2 separate regions of the Homo sapiens genome follow, and region 1 is linked to region 2. The links are contacts of gene promoters, found by promoter capture Hi-C in human tissues and cell types (Jung and others, 2019). All regions are on one chromosome and are shown on one strand. The core of a region is centred on a gene start or on the middle of the fragment in contact, and the rest is flanking DNA. Distances in the headings are between cores, read along the strand shown. Region 1 overlaps CNNM1 (cyclin and CBS domain divalent metal cation transport mediator 1). Region 2 holds the start of CRTAC1 (cartilage acidic protein 1).

Region 1 (5,752 bases), core at 1,308-3,807, 1.3 Mb before region 2:
AGCTACATCCCAGTTCCCTCCAAAGCTCTCATCATTTCACTGGCACCCAGTGTAGATGACACCCACAAGGACTCACATGTCAAACACAAGCTACATCACTATTGTGCTGGGAGGAGGAAAAACATGTCTTTTTTTTTAAAGTAAAAACAATGTTATTGAAAGTTTATTTATAAAATCATAAAGGATTCCCAACACCAAACGATACAATTGTCTTACAAAGATCGAGTCTATAAAAGCAATTTTTAAAAGAAAAAAGAACCTTTACTCCGTGAGAAAGTCCCGGCCCCTCTGAGTATTGCGCAAGATCAATGTTTTCGTGTCCTGGAGTCTGACATTCCTTAGTAGGTTGGATGCTGATGACTTGGCATTTTGGTAATTATGCATATACACTCAGAGGTTTCTGAGCAAGGGACATGGAAATGCTTTTAATAAAAAGCAGAAGAAATCAGTAACAGACGAGTGTCTTAGCAGCATGGCAAACTAGTTCAAGTTGTGTAATTCCCCTTGGCATATCCTAAGAGCACAGAGGCACAGCTTGGGGGAGTGAAGCGAGGAGGAAAATCCTAAGTATAATGCAAGGAGGTCTGGAAGGAGACAGATCAAACAGTATGATATGTGACACCAACCCGGGACCTGTCAGCAGGCAGCAGGCCAAGCAACCAACCCATCCCTTGCCCACTCTTGCTCTTGCATCAGACCCTCAGGTTGGCTCAGGTGTAACCGGGTGATGGGGAGCAGGGTTTTCTGCTCTGTGAAATTGTGGCAGACCTCATTCCTGCAGCCTTTGAGTGGTCAGTCTCTAACAGATATCTGTCCTGGGTTGGCTACTTGGATTGCTGAGGTTTGGGTGGGGAAGGCACTAGGGTAAAATTGGGGGCAGGGTGGCAAAGGGTATGGAAGAGGACTTCACACTGTAATCGGGGCTGGATGGAATCTCCTCTCCTTCTGTAGTAATAGTCAGGGGCCCTGAAAATCTATACACAGCAGCTCTGGGACTCTTGCTTCATTTGTGACACCTGTATCCAGGGAGCCTTCACAACCCTATCCTGGAATCAGACCCCAAGATACAGAAGTAGAATGCTAAGCTCCCATTTTCCCTATGAGGATTTGAGGAAAAAGGAGGGTTCAGGGGTTGCCTGCCTACATCTTTTGTACCATCAGTGAGGGATGAGGGGGAATGGCCTACTTTGGTCTGACTGTGATTGTGCCGTGGGCCATCTCTGTTCTCCAAAATGGATGAGGAAGCTTAATTACATAGACCTGTAAGAGTACCAACTAGAATTATTAAAATTCATTATACTGGGGCAATATTTAGCATCAGACAACCGAACACCAAAGCCAGCTGTCTGTCAAAACTACGATGTGAACTCTAAGCCCAAGTTAGGATCCCAGATGAACTCATTCACTTTACACGGAGCTTTAATGGTTCCCAAATGTTCATCACACAAGAGCCAACCCGAAGGAATATTTCCACTTACCACATTTTGCAAAGTAGAAATATTATTTTTAGAGATTCCCTGTATATTCAAGCAGAAAACTGTCATTATTGATCTCAGTGCACATTATGAATAGATAACCGAGCACTGAAAAAGAACCGTTGGTTCCAAAGTCTCTGTCTCTGTGCTTTTGTGGATTTGAAAGGACTGTTATGGGGAATTCAAAATTATCTCCACCACCAGGAGAAGAAAGAAGGAGTGAATATGGGGAAAGGGAATGCTAATTGCAGTGGGGCTGTGTACTTTCAGGGGAAACCCCTGATCAGAAGTTTCATTTTTAAATGAAAGCACCTGCCAAGTTGGTTAACCACACCACAACCTGGAGGTAATCTGTGAACCACTGTGTTCTTATTTCAAACTAAGGCTCAAATAGAAAGAGACTCCCTATGGATAATGATGGCAATATTTGGTGCAGAGACCCCTAGCCTCAATCTAGTGCGAGCACCAGATTCGTAATTAGCACTGCTTTCAAAATGCAAATAAATCACAGCCCTCTAGGGGGCATAAAATGTCTATATTCAGAGGTACAGCAAGGTCCCAGGCAGTAGGTGGAGAGCAGGATCTAAGACTTAGATTCCAGTCCTTGTCCCTCTGCCTACCTAATACACATACAACACTGACTGACTTTCTCAGAACCTGTTTTTTAATCTGTTGTTTTTCAATGACTATTCCTGCCTATCTCCCAAAGTGATTGTGGGGAGTCAAATCAGACAATGACAATTCTTTCTTAGACTTCAAGACCCTACTAATCTCTAGGATTTATTTTCCTCCCATATAAGATACGGTTGAGATTTAGCATATATGTAAATTAATGTATCTGGATCAGAAATCAATATTTCCACTTAGCACATTTTGCAAAGTAAAAAAAATTTTTAGGTACTTTGGTATATTCTAGGAGAAAATGGCATCATTGTTGATCTCAATGCACACTATGAATGGACGATCGAGCACTGAATAAGAGCCCTTGGTTCCAAAGTCTGTGCTTACAGGGCCAGAAGTTACCTGGAACTTCTTTCTACAAAAATCCCAGACCTCTGAGGCTACTTCTTTTAATGATTTGGAACAAAAGCAAGAGTGACAGAGGAAATACCACAGAATAGGTCCTGTGGATGTCAGCTGATCACTGGGAAGGCACAGTGATTAGCTCTAGATAGAGACCAGACACAAGGTGGAGAGGAATAAGCCAAAGGAGAAACTAGGCATTCCCTACCTCTGGTTTTCTCCCACTGTACCCACCATTGCTCCACCCTGCAGAGTTAAACCAAGGGTGGGAATAAGCTTACCTCTTTATGGGTAGGGTTTCCATTGTGTTGACACTAATCTCCTGTTGTGTTGAATATCCACAGTCATGGAAAAGGGGGGAAAGTTGAAAATACTCTCAGGGGCACATGACACCACCCAGAGTTGGATCAGAAGTCTCAGCACTTCCTGGGGGTTCTGCACAGCAGGAGGGAATCACTTTCATCTCTGTCTGACATTGGGTTATCATGGACTTTATAATAATCAATACAGATGAACTAGAATTAACCTTCCTTTAACTGGGAAGTTACAATTAACTAGGTCATCTGGTTAACTGAAGGTTAATTAAAAAGGAAAACACATCCTCGCTTTGATCTTTTGGGCTGAAAGTCTTTTAAAATGTGCATCTCCCCTTTCCTCTGAACCTTCACAGCACACTCTTGGCATTCACCAAGATTCACTGCATGTGAAGGAACTTGAAGGTCCATCAAGTGGTCATTTCTAATTTTGCGGGCATGTAGGAGTAGACCATTTAGCTGGTGAGGGCACCAGATTGGCATTTCACATTGACTGTCCGATCCTGTAGTCATTATGAAGGCATGAGCTCTCACAAAGCAAGAAAAACTATTTCTTAGTGGAAAATCACCATCGAGAGAGAGAGAGAAAACTTTGGTGAAATTTGAGAAGGTGGTTAACTTATCTTGTATAGATCAACATGAGGACCAGATGGTTTTTGATGAAAAAAAGTGATTTTGGGAAAAAACAGAAGTCAACATAAATACTTCTGAGGTTGCAAATTGGAGGGTTTGAAGTCTCAAAACATGACCTTTTTTAAATGTTGAGGGTCTACTATATAGACAGAGAAACATAAGCGATTTCTCGATGACTGAGGATATGGTGGGGTCTTAGTATCATTACCCCAGCAACGTGATAAGGGATACAGATTTAGAGGGTAGAGGAAATTGGACTGTGTTCTAACTGCAGGGCAATTTAACAAATACATTCCTGGTTTAGTCATTACTTGCTCTATGAGCCCAAGAGAACAACCACTGGAGATGAAAACAAACGGTTGATCATTCAGATTTGTGGCATTCTACTCAGTCATTGAATCATTGTCTAGCTCTATGAGGAATTGTTACCCGATTAAAAAGAAACCCAGTGACTATTTCATTTATCAACAAAAGAGGTTAAACCTAATGAAAAGTTGTTTTGAAAGTTTTACATATAGCATCCTTTGTACGAGCAGAGCTAGTGAGCATATGATCATCACATAGTAACATTATTAGGAAGATGAGGACATGGAAGGAAAGAAAGGTAGAAAGAAAATAGGTAGAAATAAAGCACAGTATTCCACTATTCCTACTTCATTCATGCTGTACTCCTCATCCCTCCATTCTGTAGTCAGACAAATGAGGAAAAACTCACACTATCCCTCACCCCCACCATTTTTCCATGTGCATACACAGATACATTCCTGGGAGGTAAACTCACAAATGACACCACTGAACCAGCAATGCCTGGGTGGTATGTGCAAATGAGTGCTATTTGTGCAAAGTGCTATGCCTTAGTCACAGGAGTGCCTGTTGGAGTGATTAGTTCTCATGCAGGAAAGTGACAGAGGCCAAAGGCTTCTTGCAAACCCCTCTGGATCTACAGAGACCCGAGACACCCATGCATGTTTACCTGGGGAGCCTGCCAGAGAGTCCCCTCTGCTGACAGCGAAGGTACGAGACACAGAGACAGGCACTAAAGAGTCAGGGGCCAAGGATTTGTGAGTTGCGAAAGGGAAGATATAAACACAAAAGGAAAGAGACAAAGAACAAAGTGGGTGAGACAGTCTGTTCCTGGATCTTCACAACATCACATTTCTCTGCAAAAAGGAATCTTGACTCTGAAAACACAGGAATCACATCCTCTTACAAAGTCACACTCCAGAAAGACAAGAAAATAAAATGGATTTTGCTGAAGGTCATCTGAAAAGATGTGCAACACATCTTGGAATCAGATGTACAAGCACAAGCCGAGCCCTGTGGGAAGCATGTAGGCAGCATTCTCTGAGGCTCCCATTTTGAGCCAGCAAACATGCTGGGAGCCCAGCGCTGCATTCCCACCAAGCTCTCCCAGCTCCCATGGAGCTCAACTGCCAAGGGCACCTGCACAGGTACTCAGAGGCCTGAATGGAAAGCGTGTGCTCCTGCTAGGGGCATCCTTGAGGAAGCTAGATCCTGCCTCAGACTCCTAGGAGATCCCTCTGCTCACAGTGTTGGTGAAGAACTGTGCATTGCTAGAGGATAGGGATAAAGGAAGAACAATATCTCTAGCAGTGTTAATGTGAATCAACTTGATGAATTAAATCAAAGCCACTTTGTGGTAAGTACCAGTGGTCCAAAGTATCTCTCCGTTCCATTGTCCTTCTCTTTCCCCACAGAGTTTGAAATGGTGCTGGCTATCACTGGGGGGCCCGGGTAGAGTTCAGTGTGTATAACAGTCCAGCCCCTCCCCCTTCAAGTGGTGTCTGGGCAGGGGAACTATGGGAACCTGTCTTCATCTCTCTTATCTGATCATTCCCAGAGTCCTTTTTAAGGAGCTAAATGAAACCAGTCTGCAGATGATAGCATATGGAAATAGACTGCTTCTGCAGTTTTATTTGCTACATCAAATGATTTTATTTGAAATTACCTACCTGATAATCCTTTGCTCTGACATGAGATGTTAATGAATATTAGAATGGGCCTCTAATATTATGAGACACAATGGAGTTAAGAAACTCTCTATTCTCAAGAAGAATCATAGTTCTAAATGTATAAATGTATACACCAAACTGTATACATTGTATACACCAAACAGACAGGAGACCTGTTCTTTCCACATCTGCACACCTGTGTGTGCACCTATTCCAGCTACCCTGGGTTCCTGGCAATCAGAACCAAGAAGAAGAAGACAGTGTAGATTATGTTCCCTTCACCTCATGCAGGAAAGCCAGAGACTTCTTTGTAGCCTCAAGTTCAACTTTGAAG
Region 2 (6,154 bases), core at 3,117-5,616:
TCCTCATTTCTTTCACAGTTTGTGGTTTCCCATTTTCAACTATTGCTGTTTTTCCACCCCCTTACAAAAAGATTCATTTCTTTTGAGACAACCAAGCCTAAAATACACAATCCCTTATCTACAATTCCAAATCCCCAAATCTCTGAAAGTCAAAAGGATTTTTGTTTTGCAAGTTTGATGCCAAGACTCATCTGGTAGCAAAATCTGACCTAAACTGATGTGAAGTTACTTTATCCTCACACCTGCTTAGTGTAAACTTCATATATTTCATTGCAGAAATATTAATGTGTCTGATTTCAATATGCTGCTCAAAGCTTCACTGAGAATGTTTATGTATGGTGCCTTTCTGAATTCTAAAATGCCTCTGGCCTCAAGGGCTTCAGATAAGGGTGTGAGGAACTGTACCAGCCTCTCTGTTCTCCTGTGACAGAACTCTTGGGACAGAAGCATCTCTAAGATCTGGTGTCTTGACTTCTCACCCGGAGAGAGAGAAGATAGCCAAGTAATCTTCTAATGTAGAGAGAGAATTAACAAAGTCATTTGTCAATGAAAGGACATGGGGTCTGGAGGTTGTCTTCAGTGTTTCCTACAGTTTTTGTCCTGTCCTTAACTTGTTGCATGACTGTTAGCAACTTGCGTAAAGTCCAACCTCTCTGATCCTGGACTTTAGAAGAAAACTAGCTCCTGAGAACTCCTGCTCCAGTGATGTTGATGATGACTAACACACACAATACATCTTGAGTTTTTAGAAAATGAAGTACTGTACAGCTTTAATAGTATTTTTAAGTAAATAGGTTTAATTGGAATAACTCAGCAAATATCTAATGTGTGTTCACTCTGTGCCCAGTTTCATGCTGGGTTCTGTGAGGTAGTCAACTGCAAGGTACAAACTCTGGACTTCAAGGGGCTCATATTCTGATAGGGAGGCCAAGTATCACTGAGTGAAAAAAAGCTAATGTGCATCACAGGTGATAAGATGGTGTAGACCTGCAGGAGAGCTGAAAACTGCTGGCCAGGGCAGTTTTGGAAGGTGGCGCAGGAAGGAAGACTTGGTTTGGGTATGAACAGATGAGAAAACAATTTAAGCACGTTCCCCAGGTAAGAATGAAGAAGTCTGTGGGGGAACACTCTGAAGAAAAAACAACTTCACTGGGGTCAAAGGACTGGAGCCTGAACAAGATGCATGGGGTAAGGGTGTGCTGAAAATGTGTGTATTAGTCAGCTCAGACTGCCATAGCCAATACCACAGACGTGGAGCTTAACCACAGAAGTTAATGTTCTCACAGTTCTGGAGCCTGGAAGTCCCAGATCAAGGTGCTGGCAGGTCTGGTTTCTGCAGAGGCCCTGCTCCTGGCTTGCAGATGGCCTCCTCCTGTTACTCAGGCAGGCTTTCTCCTGAGGATGCACAGAGAGAAATGGGAGATCTCTGGTATCTCTCTCTCTTCTTACGAGGACACTAGTCCTATTGAATTAGGGTCCACCCTTATGATCTCATTTTGCCTTAATTGCCCCTTTAAAGGCCTTATCTCCAAATGCAGTCACACTAAGGGTTAGGGCTTCACTATGTGAATTTGGTCCGGAGAGGCACAATTCAGTCTATAACCGTGTGCATGTGCCTCAAGAAAGCTGTGTTTGGGCAATGTGGGAGGACAAGAGGTCTCTCACGGGATTGGGGGTGGGGAAGGGCTGGAGCTCTGAGCAGACACTGACATGAACTGAGCAAATGGACATCGAGGACATCAGAGAAATGAGAAATTTTCCAACCAGGACTGCCTGGCCCACTGGGCTAAACCCTCACAAGTTCAAGTGCTGAAGCCAGATTGTATTCCCTGGAGCACTTCCTGGCTGGAACATCTCCATCATTTCCTGCATTTTTCTGTCCTTCCCTAGCACCTTTGGTCTGTTGTAACCTTACCTGGCTAGCTGCAGGAAAGTGTGAGATTATTACAGAGTTATTTTGCACAGAGCACCTATTCACATCTGGTTGGCTAATGCTGATAATTACCGTGCTGGTTACTAAATCTGTCGGGTCTGGGTGAGGTGAGGCGCTACAGCTGGGGCTGCTGTGCACAGCTTCACCGGAGAAGAGAGAGGTGAGAACAAAAACCAAGAAAGGTGTGCTCAGATGTTTGGGATTGAGTGAAACTGGTTAATTACCAGTCACTTGCTGTCTCCCTGAGTTGGAGTTTCTGGCTAAGGAATGCTCATAGATCAGACATAATATGACAACCTGCAACTTATTTCCACATTAAGAGGGTGGCGGGGACCAAGATGCAGAGAAAGTGTGGAGACAGTCTCTCAGGTGCCAGAGCCTTGGCCAGATGACTCAGATGCCCTCAGAACAAGGTGGTGGCATGTTCCAGCAGGGTGCAGAGCCAACTGGACTCCTTATGCAGAGAGCTGGGGATCAGATATGGCCTTGGGGGCAGAGTCTATTTGCCGATAGATGAAGGTTCTTAATCAGGGCCCTAGATTAAGTTTTAATGATCCACGAACCCTCCTAAAGTTGCATGTCAACATGTGTGTATGTGAGTGAGCATTTTTATAAGCAACAGATCCATAACATTTATGAGATTCTTGAAAGGTTCTAAAGGGTCTGTGATCCCCAAAAGGAGGGTGATTATAAACTACTGTCCTAGACCCCTGAAGAAACAGGTTGACATTGGACCGAGCCCCAAGAGACTCAGGGTTCCTAATGATCCTGAAAGTATACTCAAGGTGTGTGTGTGTGTGTGTGTGTGTGTGTGTGTGTGTGTGTGTGTAAATGTGTGTGTTTGTATATTTTTCTAGAAAAATGATTCAGTAATTTTTGCCAGATTTTCAAAGGGGCCCACAACCTTACAGGCTTGATGGGGGCTCAAAAAGCCAGAAAGTTTGTCTGTGCCTAGCTATTTCTTTTCAGAGGAAGATCACAGAGACCTGAAAACAGAGCCCAGACTAGGTCCTGGTAGTTCTGCTCAAAATCTGTGGATAACAGGGGCCAGAGGCTGGATGTGTGGCCCTCTATAAAAGAACACATTCAAATCATTCTAAGAGTCAAGGGCCCAGAAGCCAGACTAGTGGGTGATGGTCACAAAAGCGTCAACGGATGGGAAAACAGTCCTAGCTCCTTCCCTCTCCGATGGTGGATTCCCAAGTCTTTCTCTTCTGTGGCCCCTTTACCTGGCTTTCAGAAACCCAAAGACCTCACTCATGGAAGCTCAGAATTCATTCAATAAACACTGAGCGCCTACTATGTGCCAGGCTCTATTCTAGGCGTAAAATAAAGGATTTGCCTTCAGAGTGTGACCCACCAAGGCCAGTTTCCTGCCTGAACAGGGGTATTTTGAGCATTGCTGATCAAGTGTGTTTTTCTGGCGCTTAGCACCCCCATTCCCCTGGTCCAGAGAGGCAGAAACCATCCCCCCACCACCACCAAGGCAGCGGGTTGGGGGCGAGGAGAGGCGGGCAGTACCTGTGATCAAAGCGGTGAGGGAGGCTAGTAGGACGCAGGCGGCAGGAGCGGGTGGGCCAGGCCCGACTCGGCCACTGCTGGGGTAGGGACTAGGTGGGATGGGGTGGGGGCACTGCTGGTGGGGACGGGGTGGGGTAGAAGCGGCGCTGCCCGCAGCCGCCTGGGCCTCTGCGCGCCTGATCTCCGAGCTGCGCTCGCCCGCTCCCCGCCTGCGGGGGCCGTCGCGGAGCCCTGCTCTCCATACTGAGCAGTCCCCGGGAGGTGCTCGGACACGTCCCCAGGCTGGATAAAGATCGGCTCGGCTCTAGCTCCGTAGTCGAAATCTCGCCATCAGCGCGGCTCGCTCGGCCGCTTTGGCCCGGCCCGGCGACGCCAGATCGCTATCCTGGGGGGAAATGGGAAGGCAGTGCAGCCGCTCCCGCCTCCACCCTCGGTCCTGCGCGCAGGGGTGGCCGCGGGGTCCTGGGGCTCGCCGCCCTCCCCTCCCCCTTCGCGTTCCTTCCCTGCGCTGCCTCCCGAGGGACCCTCGCTTCCCTCCGGCCTGGGGCCCCCAGCGCCCAGCCAGGCGCCCTCTCCCCTCCTCGCCAGGCCTCGCTGCCGCCTGAAGGTTACGCGACGCAGTGGCGGGGCGCGGGGGGCGCCCGCCCTCGCCGCCGCCTTCGCCGCCGCCCACCCCAGTGGCCGCCGCGCCGCGCCGGGCCAGCCTGGCTGCCGGCTGCTGCCACCGCAATCCCGGCTCCTAAATCAGCGCGGGGAGGCGCTCCCTCCCCACGCCCGGCTCTCCGGGCTCTCGGGGCCGCGATTGGCCGCGCCGGCGCCCCCCACCCCGGGCCCCCGGCTCCAGCTGCCGCGCCATTGGCTGCGGGCCTCCGCCAGCCTTTACATAAGACCGGGCGCGCTCGAGTGGAGTTGTATAAAGCGAGCGCGCGGCGTCGGGGCGGGAGGCTCGAGGCCAGCCCGGGACCGGGGCTGGGAGCAAGCAGGCGGCGGCGCCGGCGGCAGAGGCGGCAGCGAGCGCCCGCTTCCCACGCCCCTAGGCGGCGGGGCCGAGAGCGGGAGGATGGCTCCGAGCGCTGACCCCGGCGTGAGTATCTGCACCGGTGCCCCCCACCCTAAGGCGGAGAAAGTTTCTCCAGCTCTGCGCGCCCCCCCGGATCCGCCCGCAAGGGTGGCGGGGACGCCGCCCGGGAACCCGGGAAGACTGGGATCGCGAAGGCGGCGGCTTCGCTCCTAACTTGCTGGGAGGCGCTGGACTCGATTGGCGCGCGGAGCCTCCCCCGCGGGCTGGGGGTGAGGCGGCGGCCGGGTTGGAGGTGGCGGAGAGGTGGGAGCTGATGTGTGGGGGCGACAGCCAGCAGCTGGCAGAGAAAGTGTTGGGGGCGCACTGGAGGTCAGCTGTCAGGGGAGGGGGCCTCTGGGGCCTGGAGGGGGCGGAGCGGGTGAGGAGGGATGTGCCGGGCTATCGGGAGAGTCTCCCAGTCAGCCAGGCTGAGACCCGGGCCTGGGAAGCCACTGGCCTCGGCCGAGTGCCTACGCTTCCAGGCTGGGGAAGAGCCCCGCGGGCTGGCTCTTCCTCCCCTGGGAAGCCGAGTTCCCGGGCACAGCGCTGGGTGGCAGAGAGCTCCGGGAGCCAGCCCCGCGCGCGGCGTAGCTGCTAGCCGCCTTATGCTGGACGAGGTGTGGTCTTCCCTTCAGGCTGCCTGAGGCAAGCCGGCTTCAGGCATTCCAGGGGAACCCTGAGTCCTCCTCGACCCCGTGGGGGCACTTGGAGGCTTTGATGGGGCAGCCAGGCCGGGCTTGGGGGCATGCCCAGCAATGCAGCGCGCTTCTTTGCAGTACAGTAGTTGGGAGCCCTGGTTAGTCCCGCTTCTGCAGAAAGCAACTCAAGAATCCAAAGTCATCCCAGCCTGGATGGAAGCCTCCCAGAGTGGCGGGGAAATTCTCCTAGGGTTGAGAGCTGGGGGGGCTTCCTCCAGGAATGACTAATGAATATTGCTGCTGCTGCCGCCGCCGCCGCCGCCGCCGCCGCCGCCGCCGCCGCTGCTGCTGCTGGTGGGTGCACCCAGTGTGGCTTCTGCACATCCCAGGAGATGCTTCCGTTCTCCTGACAGGACACATTCTTGAGTTGCACTTGAGGTGTCTTCTGGGATGGGTGCAGGACTTTCCACGTGAAGCCAAGTGGAAAAGAAGGGAAGAGGGTCCCAGGACAGGGGACAGTTCTATAGTGTTTTCTTGAGTCAGGGGAGAACTCATGTGGGAAGAGATAAGCGATTGACGGAGATTTGGAACCCAGACGACTTGGGGCTGGAGATGTCCAAGACTGAATTAGAGCTCATTGAGAGTCACAGAGTACCTCACCCTCAGCCATGGGGGAGAGGTGGAGGCTGGAAAAGTGGGAACATGGTGGCTGTTCCAGCATGGTTCTTGAGAAAATGTTCTCTCTCTCTCTCTGACTTGGTTAAGAACATCCTTCTGGCAGTAGGTCCTAAAGTCAATTTAAGAGGTAATGAAGGGAGTTGAGGGTCTTGATGATGGCACAGAGGACCACAATTAGAACATTTCCATTTCCGGTGGGTACTAATGGACTCTGGAAAAGGTCGAAACGGTGTGTAGGGAGTCTGGGGAACCTGCTCTGTGGCTGCTCATTTGAGCCTGAATCCTCCACCTTATCCCATCCCTGAATGTAGGTGGATGTTCAAA

What was found. The method cuts DNA at HindIII sites, captures the fragments that hold promoters and counts their contacts. A contact is called where the count stands out against the background at its distance.
Region 1: a fragment that was not itself captured here is called in contact with the fragment with the promoter of CRTAC1 in region 2 in 1 of the 25 tissues and cell types used here (bladder).

What each region holds. Positions count from the first base shown.
Region 1 is chr10:99,367,347-99,373,098 of GRCh38, reverse strand. All of the region lies in intron 6 of CNNM1 (cyclin and CBS domain divalent metal cation transport mediator 1), which reads right to left. Among named protein-coding and RNA genes, the nearest start is that of CNNM1, 41 kb to the right of the region's middle. The HindIII fragment of the contact is 3,893 bases long and covers 611-4,503 here.
Region 2 is chr10:98,028,833-98,034,986 of GRCh38, reverse strand. CRTAC1 (cartilage acidic protein 1) reads left to right here and starts at 4,366. Exons shown (of 15, transcript NM_018058.7): 1 at 4,366-4,538. The coding sequence starts at 4,515. The HindIII fragment of the contact is 23,473 bases long and covers 1-6,154 here.